Regions from separate parts of the Homo sapiens genome. Here all the other regions are linked to region 1. The links are contacts of gene promoters, found by promoter capture Hi-C in human tissues and cell types (Jung and others, 2019). All regions are on one chromosome and are shown on one strand. Each heading gives the region's core, a stretch centred on a gene start or on the middle of the fragment in contact. The rest is flanking DNA. Distances are from core to core; before and after follow the strand shown.

What was found. The method cuts DNA at HindIII sites, captures the fragments that hold promoters and counts their contacts. A contact is called where the count stands out against the background at its distance.
Region 2: a fragment that was not itself captured here is called in contact with the fragment with the promoter of ZNF621 in region 1 in 1 of the 25 tissues and cell types used here (dorsolateral prefrontal cortex).
Region 3: a contact is called between a fragment that was not itself captured here and the fragment with the promoter of ZNF621 in region 1, in 1 of the 25 tissues and cell types used here (dorsolateral prefrontal cortex).

Annotation. Positions count from the first base shown.
Region 1 is chr3:40,522,168-40,527,178 of GRCh38, forward strand. ZNF621 (zinc finger protein 621) reads left to right here and starts at 2,793. Exons shown (of 5, transcript NM_198484.5): 1 at 2,793-3,107; 2 at 3,612-3,697. The coding sequence starts at 3,674. RefSeq lists enhancers at 2,395-2,484, 2,763-3,575, 3,135-3,274 and a silencer at 2,675-2,834. The HindIII fragment of the contact is 18,179 bases long and covers 1-5,011 here.
Region 2 is chr3:42,052,479-42,057,489 of GRCh38, forward strand. It overlaps a transcript of TRAK1 not described here. Among named protein-coding and RNA genes, the nearest start is that of TRAK1, 36 kb to the right of the region's middle. The HindIII fragment of the contact is 4,689 bases long and covers 338-5,011 here.
Region 3 is chr3:41,721,994-41,727,004 of GRCh38, forward strand. All of the region lies in intron 22 of ULK4 (unc-51 like kinase 4), which reads right to left. Among named protein-coding and RNA genes, the nearest start is that of ULK4, 240 kb to the right of the region's middle. The HindIII fragment of the contact is 3,183 bases long and covers 1,278-4,460 here.

The sequences.
Region 1 (5,011 bases), core at 1,543-4,042:
CTTTTTGATAGGCTTAGAGAAGGGGCAGTGTATAAATATATGTTCTAATGCTATTGTTCTTGGAAATCTAATTCATCTATTTAAAACAATTGTGCTTCATAAATGTTACAATAAAAGTACTATAGATTATAGAAAGGACTGTTTCTGTGGTAGGTAAAAAATGTGTTTAGCCAGCTCCCAAAATGGTCCCCAGTGATTCTCATTCTGGCATTCACACCCTTGTGTATCCAACACTGAATCATGACTGGCCTGTGATGATAGTATATTGAGGAAATGACAGAGTGTGACTTCCAAAGCTAGGACATAAATGATATTGCCACTTCTGCCTTGACCTCTTGGGTTACTCACCTGAGATGGAAGTGGAAGTCTGCTCCTGTGTTGTGAGGATACTCAGCCATGTACAGATACGCGGTGTGCGAAGGGAGGCTTCTTTTTCTTTTCTTTTCTTTTTTTTTTGAGACAGTCTTGCTCTATATCCTGGGCTGGAGTGCAGTGGCGGGATCTTGGCTCACTGCAACCTCCGCCTCCTGGGTTCAAGTGATTCTCCTACCTCAGCCTCCCAAGTAGCTGGGGTTACAGGTGCCCGCCACCACGCCCAGCTAATTTTTGTATTTTTAGTAGAGACAGGGTTTCGCCATGTTGGCCAGGGTGGCCTCAAACTCCTGACCTCAGGTGATCTGCCTGCCTTGGCCTCCCAAATTGCTGGGATTACAGGTCTGAGCCACTGCACCCGGCGCAGGAAGGGAAGTTTCACACTAATAGCTGGCATCTATGTGCCAACCATGTGAGTGAGTTACCTTTGAGGCAAATCCCCAGCCTCAGTCCAACTTTCAAGTGACTGCAGTCCCAGGTGACACCTGACTAGACCCTCATGAGAGATCCCAAGCCAGTACCATCCAGCCAAGCCACTCCCGAATTCCTCATCCACAGAACCTTTTTTTTTTTTCCTTTTTCTCTTTTTAGGACTGACTGACTATGTTCACTGATTCATAGAAACTTTAAGAGATAATAAGTGTGTTTTGTTTTCAGCCATAAGGTTTTAGGGTGATTTGTTATGCAGCAGTAGATACCTAAGATACTCTCCATAATAGGACTTCATAAGTCAGTCTAATTCTTAAGAAAGGAATAACAAATCCAAGAAGTGGGACCCCTGTAATAAAGCAATATATCTAGATATCCAGGATCATTTTTTATCTTTTAGTGGTGGGAGACCAATTCCCCTTTATAGCATGGAAATGCTTGGTGGTGAGGAGCCTGGTATCTGGAACTGTGTTCAGGAGAAGTTATCAGCGTGATTAAAGTAAAACAAAGTCTGGGCCGGGCGCGGTGGCTCACGCCTGTAATCCCCAGCACTTTGGGAGGCCGAGGTGCACGGATCACAAGGTCAGGAGATCGACACCATCCTGGCTAACACGGTGAAAACCCGTCTCTACTAAAAATACAAAAAATTAGCTGGGCGTGGTGGCGGGGTGCCTGTAGTCCCAGCTACTCGGGAGGCTGAGGAAGGAGAATGGCGTGAACCCAGAAGGCAGAGCTTGCAGTGAGCCGAGATTGCGCCATTGCACTCCAGCCTGGGCGACAGAGCGAGACTCCGTCTCAAAAAAACAAACAAACAAAAAACAAGCAAAAAAAAAAAAAACAAAGTCTGTCCATCTTAGCAACCACTTTGATACTGGAGAAAGGCTCCTGTCCAGAAGGAAGGGCACAGTAGTGAGGTACTTGCCAATGAGCTGGGTAGAGCTGCCACTGGCTGGCTTCGGGAAGTGTTTATCACTGACTGGCTCATGTTCAGAAGCTTGGAGTGAGGCTGTTGTGTACTGGTTGATTTTCAGAGTACGTGTACTGATCTAAAATTATGTAAATTAATGGCAAGTACTTGTTAGTGACTTGGGACTTTGGTCAAAAAACAGTCTTTTCCTTTCCTGAATATGAAAAGTAAGTTCTTTTAATTAGCAGCCTCCCCTCTTCACTGTTTTTTCTTCCTGCAGTCCAACTAACAGAACAGACCATAAAGGTCTGTCCAGATCATTATTTATGGAAGTATGAGATATATATATTTCAGCTGGTGTTAACATTTTATTTAAGTGCCAGTTACTGAGCAGAAAAATAGCTGTAACTACGAGTTTTTGTAATTTATTGGAAAAAGCTAAATATAAGACATTTAGGGTGTCCTCCCAAAGTCAACACAGGACAAGATCATTTAATATAGGACATGTCCTGTGTATACAGGATGCCTAGCAACTGTATGTAGCCACGGGTGTTTTGGTTGTTAAATGAATCTGTCCTAAAAGGTTCTACGCACATCTAGGTCCTTGGAAGGGAGAGGGCTAAAACGGCGAGTGGAAACCATGGTTTCCCTGAGGACTGCCCAGCTGAGGACCCAAGCAAGATCCTGGGCTTGGGCCTCTTAGAGATGACAAAGCAGGCGCCATTCTCCCCTCACCTGCACGGCCCAGGCTTCAGGTGAGCCACGGGGCCAAGGCGGCCAACAGCTGAGGCGCAGCCCGTGAACTGGGGGCCCACTTGTGCCTAGAGGGCGAGGTCTCGGTAGAGCCAGGCTGTATCAGTCCGTGACACTCCAGCCAGAGGCGATGCCGACGGCTGCCGGAGAAAGCCGGGCTTAGAGCGCCACAGTTCCACGCCCGCCGCCGGCCTCTCAGCCCAGCCGGTCGCCGCAACCTCGCCTCTTCCGCAGGGCGGGGCCAGCCATGAAAGGCGGGGCGGGTCTGGCCACGGGGCGACCGAGATGGCGGCCTCCGGGGGCCTAGAGGGACCCTGGGCGTGCACTCGCCCTTCCGGCTCGGCCTTTAGTTAGTGACCAGCTCCTCGGCGTTCTGCAGAGCGTGGGTTTCAGCGAGTTCTACGTGCCAGGTCCGCCCGGTGCCGGCTTCCTCGCTGCCCCTGGCGGCTCGTCAGCCCCCACTACCCCTGAACTTGGTCCCAATGGCGGCCCGCCCCTCCTTCACCCGGACCGTGGGCATCTGGGCCTCGCCGAAGCCGTCAAGGTGGCTGCTCGGGCTTCTAGAGCCCGTGTCCAGCCCTTTGCCACCGAGGCCTGATCCTCTTTTCTGCCCTAAAGAACTTGCCCTGACAGCCTCTGGCTCCCGGTACTGACGTTTCTGATGTTTGGGGTTGCCTGTTTTCTTGGGTGGAGTGTTAAGATCACGGTTGGGTGGGGTCTCCGGTCAGCATCACCCACTGGGACGCTGAGTATTTTACCCTTAATCCGCATTCAGCCACCCCAGTCCCTCTTCTCCTGAGGTTCTTTCTTTTGGGTCCACGTCATCGTCCCTGTAAGCATTCTGTAAAGACTCTTTACGTTTGTAGAGACCCAACACAATAGGGACAGGGCTCTTGGGTCCCTCAGTTTACCCGTACGAATGGGCTCAAAAAAAGCTCTTCGGACTGAGCAGGCAGGTGGAAGATTGTCCTGAAGACTAGGCAGAACAATTCATAAGAAGTTTGGGGCTATCAGCGTGAGAACAATTAGAGGGAGTCCTAGTAGAATCTCCGTGCATCCAGTGCTGGAAATGTGGAAACTGGGAGGGCCATAGGTTGCTGTAGGTGGTGGACGACAGGGTCCTTAGCACTCATGGCTCTTTTTCTCTTAGCTCTTGAGGATCTTGCTTGTCCAAACCCAGAAGACAGTGCATGAAGCCAGGGGACATCCGCCATGCTCCAAACAACTTGGCCTCAGGTGAGCTGAGCTTCTTTCAGTTTTTTTGTTTGTTTGTTTATGTTTTTTTACTCACATTAGCTATCAGATAATCAGGAAAGGATGAGGAAGGCCTAACTTGGCCAAGCTGTGTTTTCCCCTTTGTATCTATCTCCAGGGCTATGGCAGATGTAAATATGTGCTGGGGAAATGAAAGTTTTGTGTATAGAGAGTGATGAGTTTGGATGTATAGATTTAAATGGAAGAAAGGGGACCTATACCAAGAAATTCTTTCTGAATGTGGAAATCCAGATCGTGTTCTAGAAATGAAAGTCACCTACTGAAATCAGACTCATTTTTTGTGAGACGGAGTCTCACTCTGTCGCCCAAGCTGGAGTGTAGTGGCACTATGATATCGGCTCACTGCAGCCTCTGCCTCCTGGGTTCAAGTGATTCCCATACCTCAGCCTCCTAAGTAGCTGGGATTACAGATGTGCGCCGCCACGTGTGGCTAATTTTTGTATTTTTAGTAGAGACGGGGTTTACACCACGTTGGCCAGGCTGGTCTTGAACTCCTGAGCTCAGGTGATCCACCCGCTTCGGCTTCCCAAAGTGCTGGGATTATAGGCATGAGCCACCGCACTAGCTTGAAATCAGAAATTCTTTATTGGAGAGATTGCCCACAAATTGTATTGTATGTATCCCAGAGAGACTAGTATTGTTGCTTTAATATACATTTTCTAAATGCTAGATGCAAGGACTCTGAAGTTGCAGAGAAAGCTGGATGTACTCTAGAAACTGGAAGGGGTCAGAGAAAGTGGTTCAATATGAGATGGAAGAAATAGATACCTGTATTATAGGTCATGGTGAGGACAGTGGTTTCTGTACTGGTTCATTGGGAAGGCACTGAAGAATTTTAAGCAGGGGGATGACATGGTTGGATTTACATATTAAAAAGATTTTCCTAGCCCTTAGTGGCAAATTGATGGTAGAAAGGTGTTGGTCAATTAAGAAGATATTAAGTGTTGTCCTTTTATTTTTTTTGTTTTTGAGACGGAGTTTCGCCTTTGTTGTCCAGGCTTGAGTGCAATGGCGCTATCTCGGCTCACCGCAACCTCCACCTCCCAGGTTCAGGCAATTCTCCTGCCTTAGCCTCCCAAGTAGCTGGGATTACAGGCATGCACCTGTTTTTTGTTTGTTTGTTTGTTTTTTTGAGATGGAGTCTCACTGCAACACCCAGGCTAGAGTGCAATGGTGCGATCTTCGCTCACTGCAACCTCCACTTCCCTTGTTCAAGTGATTCTCCTGCCTCAGCCTCCCGAGTAGATGGAATTACAGGTGCCCGCCACCACGTCC
Region 2 (5,011 bases), core at 1,432-3,931, 1.5 Mb after region 1:
TATCTGAGGCTTCCTCAGGGAAATAACCCTCCAGCTTAAGGCCTCTTATGCTATTGTTGAGCAGATTCAGCCTCTGATTTAGGAAAGTAGCCAATTGGAGCAAAAAGCATGATTCAGTCTTGAAGGAAAAAAATAACTTGGGCTACTCTGCGTCATGTGAAGAAGTAACTGGGTCTCGTGTGGATGCCAGTGATAACAGTTGGCATACTGGGGATTTCCTTCTAATCTTTATTCTGTGTGCATGCAGGATGTGCATTTAATCTAGTTGGGATCCCATTGTATGCATTGTTCTGTATTGCCCCCTCCCCCATTATGAAAGAGTCCCGTGACACCACAGTGTTAAGGACTGAGGTGGTAAGGGCTCCAGGATGTCAGTGGCTATCAGAGGTCCCCAGCTCTGAGAAAACTGGTGGCTGAATGCGTAGTCCCCGAAGAAGTCATTTTCCCAAGGCATTTGGAGTTGTTGGTGCTACTGGCACATTTTGGACCTCTGTTAAGGGGAAAGACAGGGGGAGCTGACTGACTGGGCTACTCCATTGCCATTTAGATTTCCTGACTCTGCAAGCTGGCTGAATGTTGCTTTTTCATGTGCTGCCTGGACTAAAGCTGTCTGATTCTTTCCTTCTGAACAATGGCTGTTTTTATGAGATCTTGCTTCTCCCAGGCAGTGGCCCACACAGTGAAGTCTTTTCTTTCCCGTTTGTGTAAGCTAGTGGACCTTATGGACTCTGTCTGGCTGACTTTTCTCTAATGTTTACAGTTCGTGTAGTGTGATAGCCGAGCTCATTTTCCGTGTGAAGAAAAAGAAAAGGTGGATAATGGACCGCCTCCCCCTCCCTGCCTCCAGAAAAAAAGGCACTCAGAGAGAAAAGACTGCAGTCCCATTCAGAGTCGGGTGGGGGGGGGGGGCGGGGGATGGCAAAGGGGGAGGGTAAAAGAGGACCCTTAGGGCAAATGACTGTTCTGGGGATGGGGTGGGGAGTCAGCCTTCTTGGGGGAGCTGGGGATACTTTGTGTAGGGCCCCATTCTGTGGTATGGGCTTCTTTCCTCCTGGACCCTGGTGTAGGCTGGAGAAATCAGTATTATGGAAGCCACTGCCTCCTCACCCCGCCCCCAGGATCTAGGCCCAGAGGACCTGGCAAAAGCTGGGTTGGCACCCACACCCAGGACCTGCCCGAGCCAAGTCCACGCTGCCCCTGCCTGACCTGGGCTGGTCAAGTAGAGTAGGCCTGAACTGCCCGGGTGAAGGAGTATCCCAAGTCCATCATACCGCCTTTCCCCTCCCTCACCAAGGGAAAATGAAACCCCACGTGCCGAGGGCTACCTTTGCTTTTTCTGTTACCTTTGATGGATTGACTGCTCATCCCACACAATTGGGACCAAAATCTCTGGCCCTGCAATCAGTCTGCCCTACTCTGATGCTTGCTTAAGCTGTGACAAAAGATACTTGGATGCACAAAGGTCTCTTTTGAGTTTAATTGGAATTTCTCTAAACACTCTGACTCTCCCTGAATCTTCCCTGTTTCCTAAGACCAACATCGTGGAGTCAGTAGATTTAGTGAGCACCTGCTAATTACCACTGGGGTGTTGAGGATTCAGGGTAGACAGCGACCTGTCCTTATAAAGCAAGCTAACATTTGAGTATGTATCTGTGCATACTCAATGAAAAATGAATTTCATTATTTACCTGAATAACGAAATATTCAGGGCTCCTTATGTGCTAAGTACTGTGCTAAGCACTTTGTCAACATAATCAATAAATACTTTTGAAGTGAGTGACCTCCTTCAGCACCCCCTTTGGCTGGAGAGTCAGGCCTGGCTGGTTTCATGGTCCACCCTGCTGTCCTTCCTCATCTGGTGCCCCAGCCTGGTAGGCAGAGGCAAGGAGAGGCAGGTACAGGGTGCACCTTGAGAGCCTTGCAAGCCAGAATCAGGAGCTTGGGTTTTATTTTAGCAATGATAGGAAGCCGTAGGTGAGTTTAAGCAGGAGAATCATAAATAACTCACCCCAGGTCACCTCACCAGCAAATCAGTTATATAGCCAGACCAAGAACCAAGGACTTCACATTTCTACCTAGCCTGGTGCCTGGAAGAAGCATTCATTCCATTGGAAGACTCAGCTGTTTTCTATAAAAACAGCCTTCTCCTCTTTTACCACCATCGTACTTGTTCCCAGCATGGTAGAAATATTTTTGAAGTTATTTTATATATAGTAGAAATTGTATGTATGGTGAAAAGTGGAAATAACTTTTTTATTCCCTGAAGCAAACATAACTAAGTCAGTGAAAGTTGAATCATTTTCCATTTTACAAACTAACCATTGCCATGATTATCTCTGAACTTTTGTTAATAATACAGCTGTGTATGCCCAAAGCTGTAGACTTAAATTTTTTTTTAATTTGTAAATGATCTACAGCAAACTAGATTTTTTTTTTTTTTTTTTTTTTTTTTTTTTTTTTGAGACAGAGTCTCACTCTGTCACCCAGGCTGGAATACAGTGGCGCGATCTGGCTTACTGCAATCTCTGCCTTCCAGGTTCAGGAAATTCTCCTGTCTCAGCCTCCATAGTAGCTGGATTTACAGGCATGTGCCATCATACCCAGCTAATTTTTGTATTTTTAGTAGAGACAGGGTTTCGCCATGTTGGCCAGGCTGGCCTCAAACTCCTGACCTCAAGTGGTCTGTCCTCCTTGGCCTCCCAAAGTGCTGGGATTACAAGAGTGAGCCACTGCACCCAGCCTGAATTTTAACACATGTATAGAGTCATGTAACCACCCCAAGGATACAAAATAGTTCTGACACCCCAAAGAAACTGCCCGTAAAACTCTCTCTCTTTATAAAACTCTCTCCCATAGACTTTTTAAAAAGCTTTGTTAAAATAACAGCTTTATTGAGATATGATTAACATACCATTCAGTTGTCACATCTAAAGTATGGAATTCAATGGTTTTCAGTGTTTACAGAGTTGTGCAACATCACCACAGCAAATCTTATTTGTTGAGACAGGTTCTCTTGCTCTGTTGCCCAAGCTGGAATGCAATGGTGTGATCATGGCTTACTGCAGCCTCGACCTCCTGGGCCCAGGCAATCCTCCCATATCAGCTTCCTGAGTAGCTGAGATCACAGGCGTGTGCCACCATGCTCTGCTAATTTTTTAATTTTTTTGTAAAGATGGAGTCTCCTTATGTTGCCAAGGCTGGTCTTGAACTCCTGGCTTCAAGCGATCCTCCTTCCTCGCCTGCCAAAGTGCTGAGATTATAGATGTGAGCCACTGTGCCCGGCCATCCACAATAAATTTTAGAACACTTTCTTCACCCGCAAAAGAAACCCTGTATCCATTAGCAGTTACTCCCCATTTCCCCCAATCCTCTAGCCCCAGGCAACTACTAATCTACTTTATGTTTGTATAGACTTTCCTCTTTTGGACATTTGTTATACATGGAATCATACAATATGTAGTCCTTTGTGACTGGCTTTTTTCACTTAGCATAACGTTTTCAGAGTTCACCCATGTTGTAGTAGGTATCAGTACTTCATTCCTTATTATTGCTGTATAATATTCCATTGTTATGTATTTTTAATATTTAGTTTATCCTTTCATTAGTTGGTAAACTTTTGGATTATTTCCACTTTTTGGCTATTGTGAATAATGTTGCTGTGAACATCTGTAGACTTTTTTTTATTGTGGACATTTGTTTTCATTTCTTTATGTTGATACCTATGAGAGGAATTGCTAGATCATGTGGTAACTCTGTATTTAACATTTTGATAAATTGCCAGACTGTTTTCCAAAGTGGCTGCGCTATTTTACATTCCCACCAGCAGTGAGTGAGGGTTCTGGTTTGTCCATGTCCTTGCCAATGCTTGTTATTATCTGTCTTTTTGATTATAGAAATCCTTGTGGGTATGAAGTGGTATCTCATTATGGTTTTGATTTGCATTTTCCTGATGGTTAATGATGTTGAGCATTTTTTCATGTGCTTGTTGACTTTTGAAATTATTATTGAAATAATTATTGGATAACAGATGTTAAAAACATTTCAACAGAAGCAGAAATATTTTATATAATTGATTTTAAAATTATATTGAGCAAAGTTATTAGCTGATTATTAAAGAGATTATTTTACCCTGGAGAATTATTAGAAATTTTGAAATTAAAAACATTCTTTTGTTTACCCAGAAATCTAGAAGAAAGGTTAAAATTTCCACTTTTTAATATTGTCCCAAGTGCAACATAAAAGTATGCATTTTTCATATCTTAACCTTTAAATGTATGCCATGTTAGGATACAATATTGAGTGCTTGTATATTTTTGAATTCACAGTCCTTTTTTCTGCCCCGATTGTAATAATAGGCTATTCTACATCCTTCTTAATACCTTTTAGCTCAACATTTCTATTTCCAATATTAGGATTTTAAAAATAAAAATCTTGTGTGAGAGACAAAGTAAAGTACCAAAATTGCCTCAGTTAGAGGAGCCAGTTTTCTGTGGATTTGAACCAACCTGTAACCTGAGCCGTGCACAGCTGCCATGAATAGAACAGGGACCTGGTGAAGGGCACCTTCTGCCACTTTGGCCGATTGAGATCCAGCAACCTCCTGGCTGGCAGTGATCATGAAGATGGGAACTAGGACACTGGTGCATTTTAAGGTGCAGTAATTAAAGGCACTCTAAATTACTCTTTGCTGTTTAGACCACCTGGGCTGTCCAGTGCTACTTTGGATACCAAGGAAAATGGAATATTCTTATGTAAATATGGATGGACCATGAGCTCCTGGAGGGCTGGAATCCAGTTTTGTGCAATTGTTTTCTCCACAAAGACTGACAGTAGGTTCACGGTCCTGCTTCTTGAATGAAGGAAGAAGGGAAGGAATGAAGGGTGAATGATGGGAGTAACAGAAATTGATTGCCAATTCACATCCATCTCTGCCACACTTTCTTCTTTCCTAATAGAATCCAGATTTCATTCCATTCTTAAGCCTCCTTTGCAGCATGCTGGAGTAGGGGTT
Region 3 (5,011 bases), core at 1,619-4,118, 1.2 Mb after region 1:
TGGAAGCAATTCTCACCTGTTGCACTTTCAGACAGTGTGATCTTGTACAAATTAAACTCTTACAAACTTCAGTTTTCTAATTACAAAATGGGATAATGCCCGCCTTATAGGACTGCTGTGAGGATGTAAATGAATGCGGTAAATTCTCAGGAAACGGTAGCTGCTATCATCACCACCACCAAACTTGGGATACTGCTTTCTTGAGTACACAAATCTTAAGAGAAAATCCCTAGAGAAGGCTAACACTCTGTTTTTCATCCCACTCTCTGAATCATGAATCACCATGCTCAAAAGTCCTGCCCCACTTCCCCTGCATTTTGAAGAACTGCCTCAACTTATTAAAATGAAAGACAGACCGGGCGCAGTGGCTCACACCTGTAATCCCAGCACTTTGGGAGGCCATGGCGGGTGGATCACCTGAGGTCAGGAGTTCGAGACCAGCCTGACCAACATGGAGAAACCCCGTCTCCACCAAAAAAATACAAAAATTAGCCAGGCGTGGTGGCACATGCCTGTAATCCCAGCTACCCGGGAGGCTGAGGCAGGAGAATCTCTTGAACCTGGGAGGCAGAGGTTGCAATAAGCCGAGATGGCACCACTGCACTCCAGCCTGGGCAATAAGAGTGAAACTCCATCTCAAAAAATTAATTAATTAAAATTAAATTAAAATAAAATGAAAGAGAGCCTGACATCTCTTCAGAGATTAGAATTTGATGCCATTAAAATTGTTCTACTCCTTTTGATATAGGAAGAATAGAAACATTTTCTTTAAGGAAATAGTTTTGTCTTCATTAAACATGCAGAATATATAACCGTTTATTTAACCCATCATCCTACTAAAAGACATGAGGGGTGCTTTCAGCTTTTCTTCTCAAAAAGCAATGCTTGAGAGACACTGTTGCATCTGTCTCCTGGTACACATGTGCAAGAGTTGCTAGGGTACATGTATAGGAATGGAAACTCAAATATTCAACTTCACGACACTGCCAAACTGGTTCCCAAAGTGGTTGTCCCAATTTATTCCCACCAGTAGTGTATGCGTTCCCTCTGAGTTACAACCTCACCAATACCTACTGGTATCAGATTTAATTTCTACCCATCTATTTATGGGGTTTAAAGTGGTACCTTTAGTCTTAATTTGAATTTTCATAATTATTAATGACAGAATATTTTGGTATTTATTTGCTGTTCATAATTCCTCTTTTCTCAGGAAAATGAAGGGAAAAGAGGAATTATGAACAGTAAGTGCCTGAAAATGTCTGTTTCTGAAATGCCTGTTCAGGTCTTTTGCTCATTCTCCCATTGGGTTGTTGATCTTTTGTTATTGATTTGGAGGCATTAATTATATGGTCTGGATCTTTTATCTTCTTCCTCTTTGTCCCCTTCTTTATCCTCTTTCTTCCTTCTTGTTTCTCCTCCTCCTCTTGTCTTTCACATTGAAGTCCTCAATCCACTAGAAATTGACTGATCATGTGGGTTGAGGTGGGAATCTAATTTCATTGTTTTTCCAAGTGGACGAGCACTTGTCTGGTACTATTTATTGAAAAGGTACTTCTAAAACCAACAGTGAGGAAAGAGGGGTAAAAGATCAAATATTTGGCAAAATCTGATTAAAAAGCAGTTTGAACCTTACATTACCTCCTCTGGCCAATATATGTAGGTAACTGCCACTAGGCTTGCACTCAGGCAAAAGTTTAAACATTTATTCTCTAGAGAAAATAAAAACCATCTGGACTGAGAAATAGCAGACCAAGATTAAGAGAGGACTACCAAACTGCAAACAGGGGACTAAGTAAATTTATGCACAGTAAATACTGAAACTTCATCTCCCTTAGCCCAGTGGGCGCCTGGGACTCTGGTAGCCCAGTCGTTTCCTTCCGAGCATGTGACTGGAACACTCTGCATGTGCTCTTCTTTGGCAAAACTAAATAGCCCAAGAGAAATAGCCAGAGACATTCATGCTAAAGTTCACATTAAAAATGCCTGTACAGATGATCTTAATGTAAAGCTCAAAGTCAAAATTCACCAACACACTGAGAACTTCTAAAATAGGCTGTCATTCCCTCAACTCTTAATCATAAGGAGATCAAACATTACCAAATAGCTGAAAGCCTGACTTATCTGTTCTACATTTATGTCTGCTGGTATTCATCCACATTCTTTTTCATTGCTGTGTAGTGTTCCGGTATGTGAATATACCATAATTTACTTACTCGTTTTGTTGTGGATGAACATTTGGGCTATTTCAATTAATGAATAGGGCTAAGCATAACTTATGCTGGATGCACATAAACATTTCTATTGGATATATCTGTATCCTTGGAAGTAAATTTGCTGGGTCACAAAGCATGCCTCGATTCAGTTTCATAGACACTGATGATCAGTTTTCTAAAGTGATCATTATGTCAATTTATACTCCAACAGGTAGATATAAGAATTCCAGTTTTTCAGCCAGGCGCGGTGGCTCACATCTGTAATCCCAGCACTTTGGGAGGCCGAGGCGGGTGGATCATGAGGTCAGGAGATCGAGACCATCCTGGCTAACACAGTGAAACCCGTCTCTACTAAAAATACAAAAAATTAGCCGGGCGTGGTGGCAGGCGCCTGTAGTCCCAGCTACTCGGGAGGCTGAGGCAGGAGAATGGCGTGAACCCGGGAGGCAGAGCTTGCAGTGAGCCAAGATTGCACCACTGCACGCCAGCCTGGGCGACAGAGTGAGACTCTGTCTCAAAACAAAACAAAAAAAAAATTCCAGTTTTTCTATATCTTTGCCAAAACCCTACATTATCAGGCTTTTTAATCACAGCCATTCTAGTGGGTATATGTTGGTAACTCATTGTGATTAAACTAAATTTTCCTGATGACTAATTAGGTTAAGCATCTTTTCAGGTGTTAATTGACCATCTGGAGATAACCAGTTTTGTAAACTGTTTGTCCAAGTCTTGTGCTCATTTTTCTATTGGGTTATCTGTCCTCTTTTCCTTGATGAAGTAAGTCTGTACATATTTCTGTTAAGAGACCACTGTTGATTATATATGTTGATTATGAATGTCTCTTACTCTGTGGCTTACCTTTTTACTCTTTTAATGTCTTTGAATGAACCATAATTTTAAGGTAGCCTAATTTATCAATATTTTCCTTTCTGACAATGCTTTTGTGTTCTGTTAAAAAAAATTTCAGTCTACACAAAAGTCATGAAGATATTTTCATATGCTATCTACCAGAAGCTTTACTGCTTTACCTTTACAAATTTAAACAGAAAATCATAAAATCTACCTGTATTGATCTTTGGTACAGTACAGCTTAGGAGTAAAAGTTTTTATTTCTTTCCTATATTGATATCTAAATTATCTATTATCGTTTATTATAAAACCCACAATTTTCTGTTTTCCTCTATATCTCTCCCACTATTCTTCATGTCTTCTATACTTTTGTCTCTCTACACTGATCTCAGACTTCTCCCAGATAGCATTTCTCTGCTTCAGAGAGTCTAATCTGTTAGCCAAATCCACTGACTTGTTACTTTCAATTATTGTATTTTTCAGTTCTAGAATATCCATTTGGGTTTTTTTAATAGTTCTAGTTCTCCACTGAAACCCTTAATCTTTCAAATTCCTTGACTATATTAATCACAGTTATTTTAAAGTCTGTATCTGATAACTCTATTGTCTGTATTCCCTATGGATACTGTCTCTCTTGTTGATTTTATTGCTTTTATTCATATCATCTTGTCTCCTCATAGGCCTGACTACTTTCTATTGAGTATTAGACTCTATACCTGAAAACTACGGAGATACTCTGAGGCCTAGGGTTACGGTTAAACTTCTTCAGACAGGATTTGCATTTGCTTCTGGAAGGCAGCTAAAACACCAAACAATCTAGATCATCTTAATCCAAACAGAGACTGAGATGATTCAAAAATGAGCTTCTCTCCCTGTTTTGGGAAATCCTCTATATCAGTAACAGCTACCCCAGAAACAGAAAACAGAGAAAATAGAAATGGTTATCTTTTGGCAGTCAAGGAATCCAAATGAAATCCTCTCCAAATTTACAGAGTATAAAAAAAGCAAATTCACACTTGTCTATAAGGAATAAATTTTTCTCTAAAGTTTAAATTATCCATTATAAAATTTGATAATGTGTTGCTTAACTACCATGGTTTGAAATATCTTTCACTTAAGGCAAAAAACTATTCAAATCATTTTCAAACACTAGTACAGACTGTTAATACATAAGAAAATATCCATTACATCTGCTGGGAGAAATAAAAAACTAATGGGATCCATAACAGTTTAAAACTAACTCTAGAATGATGCTCCATTTCTTCATGCTCTCCCCAATGCCTCCCCATTACAAGATGTGTTTTCACAGCTACAGTAGAATAAACTGACTTTACTGACAAGAGAACATTATTTTCTAAAAGAATTCACATCTATAAAGGAGACAAAATGTGGAAACATTTGAGCATAGTGTCCCACAAATACTTCACAAGCGTTCTACGAAAAGCAGCAAATGATATTTCTCAGTGTTCTACAAGGGTATATCAAGTTAAAAAGATAACACACTGAAAAGAAATCCAAATAAACTGCAAATAAACAAGGTCAGATCAATTCTCCTTTGTGTCCCTTACTAATTTTTTTGAGACAGAGTCTTACTCCATCACCCAGGCTGGAATGCAGTGGCATGATCTCAGCTCACTGCAACCTCCGCCTCCTGGGTTCAAGTGATTCTCCTGGATCACCTTGTAGCTCTGATTACAAGTATGCGCCACCACGCCAGGCTAATTTTTGTATTTTTGTTTTGTTTATTTGTTTCATTTAATTTTTATATTTTTAATAGAAATGGGGTTTCACCATGTTGGCCAGGCTGATCTTGAACTCCTGACCTAAAATGATCTGCCCACTTCTGCCTCCCAAAGTGCTGGGATTACAGGCATGAGTCACTGTGCCTAGCCAACTATCTTTAACAGTATTATTTCTCCCCAGGACATACCCATTTCCCAAACTACTGT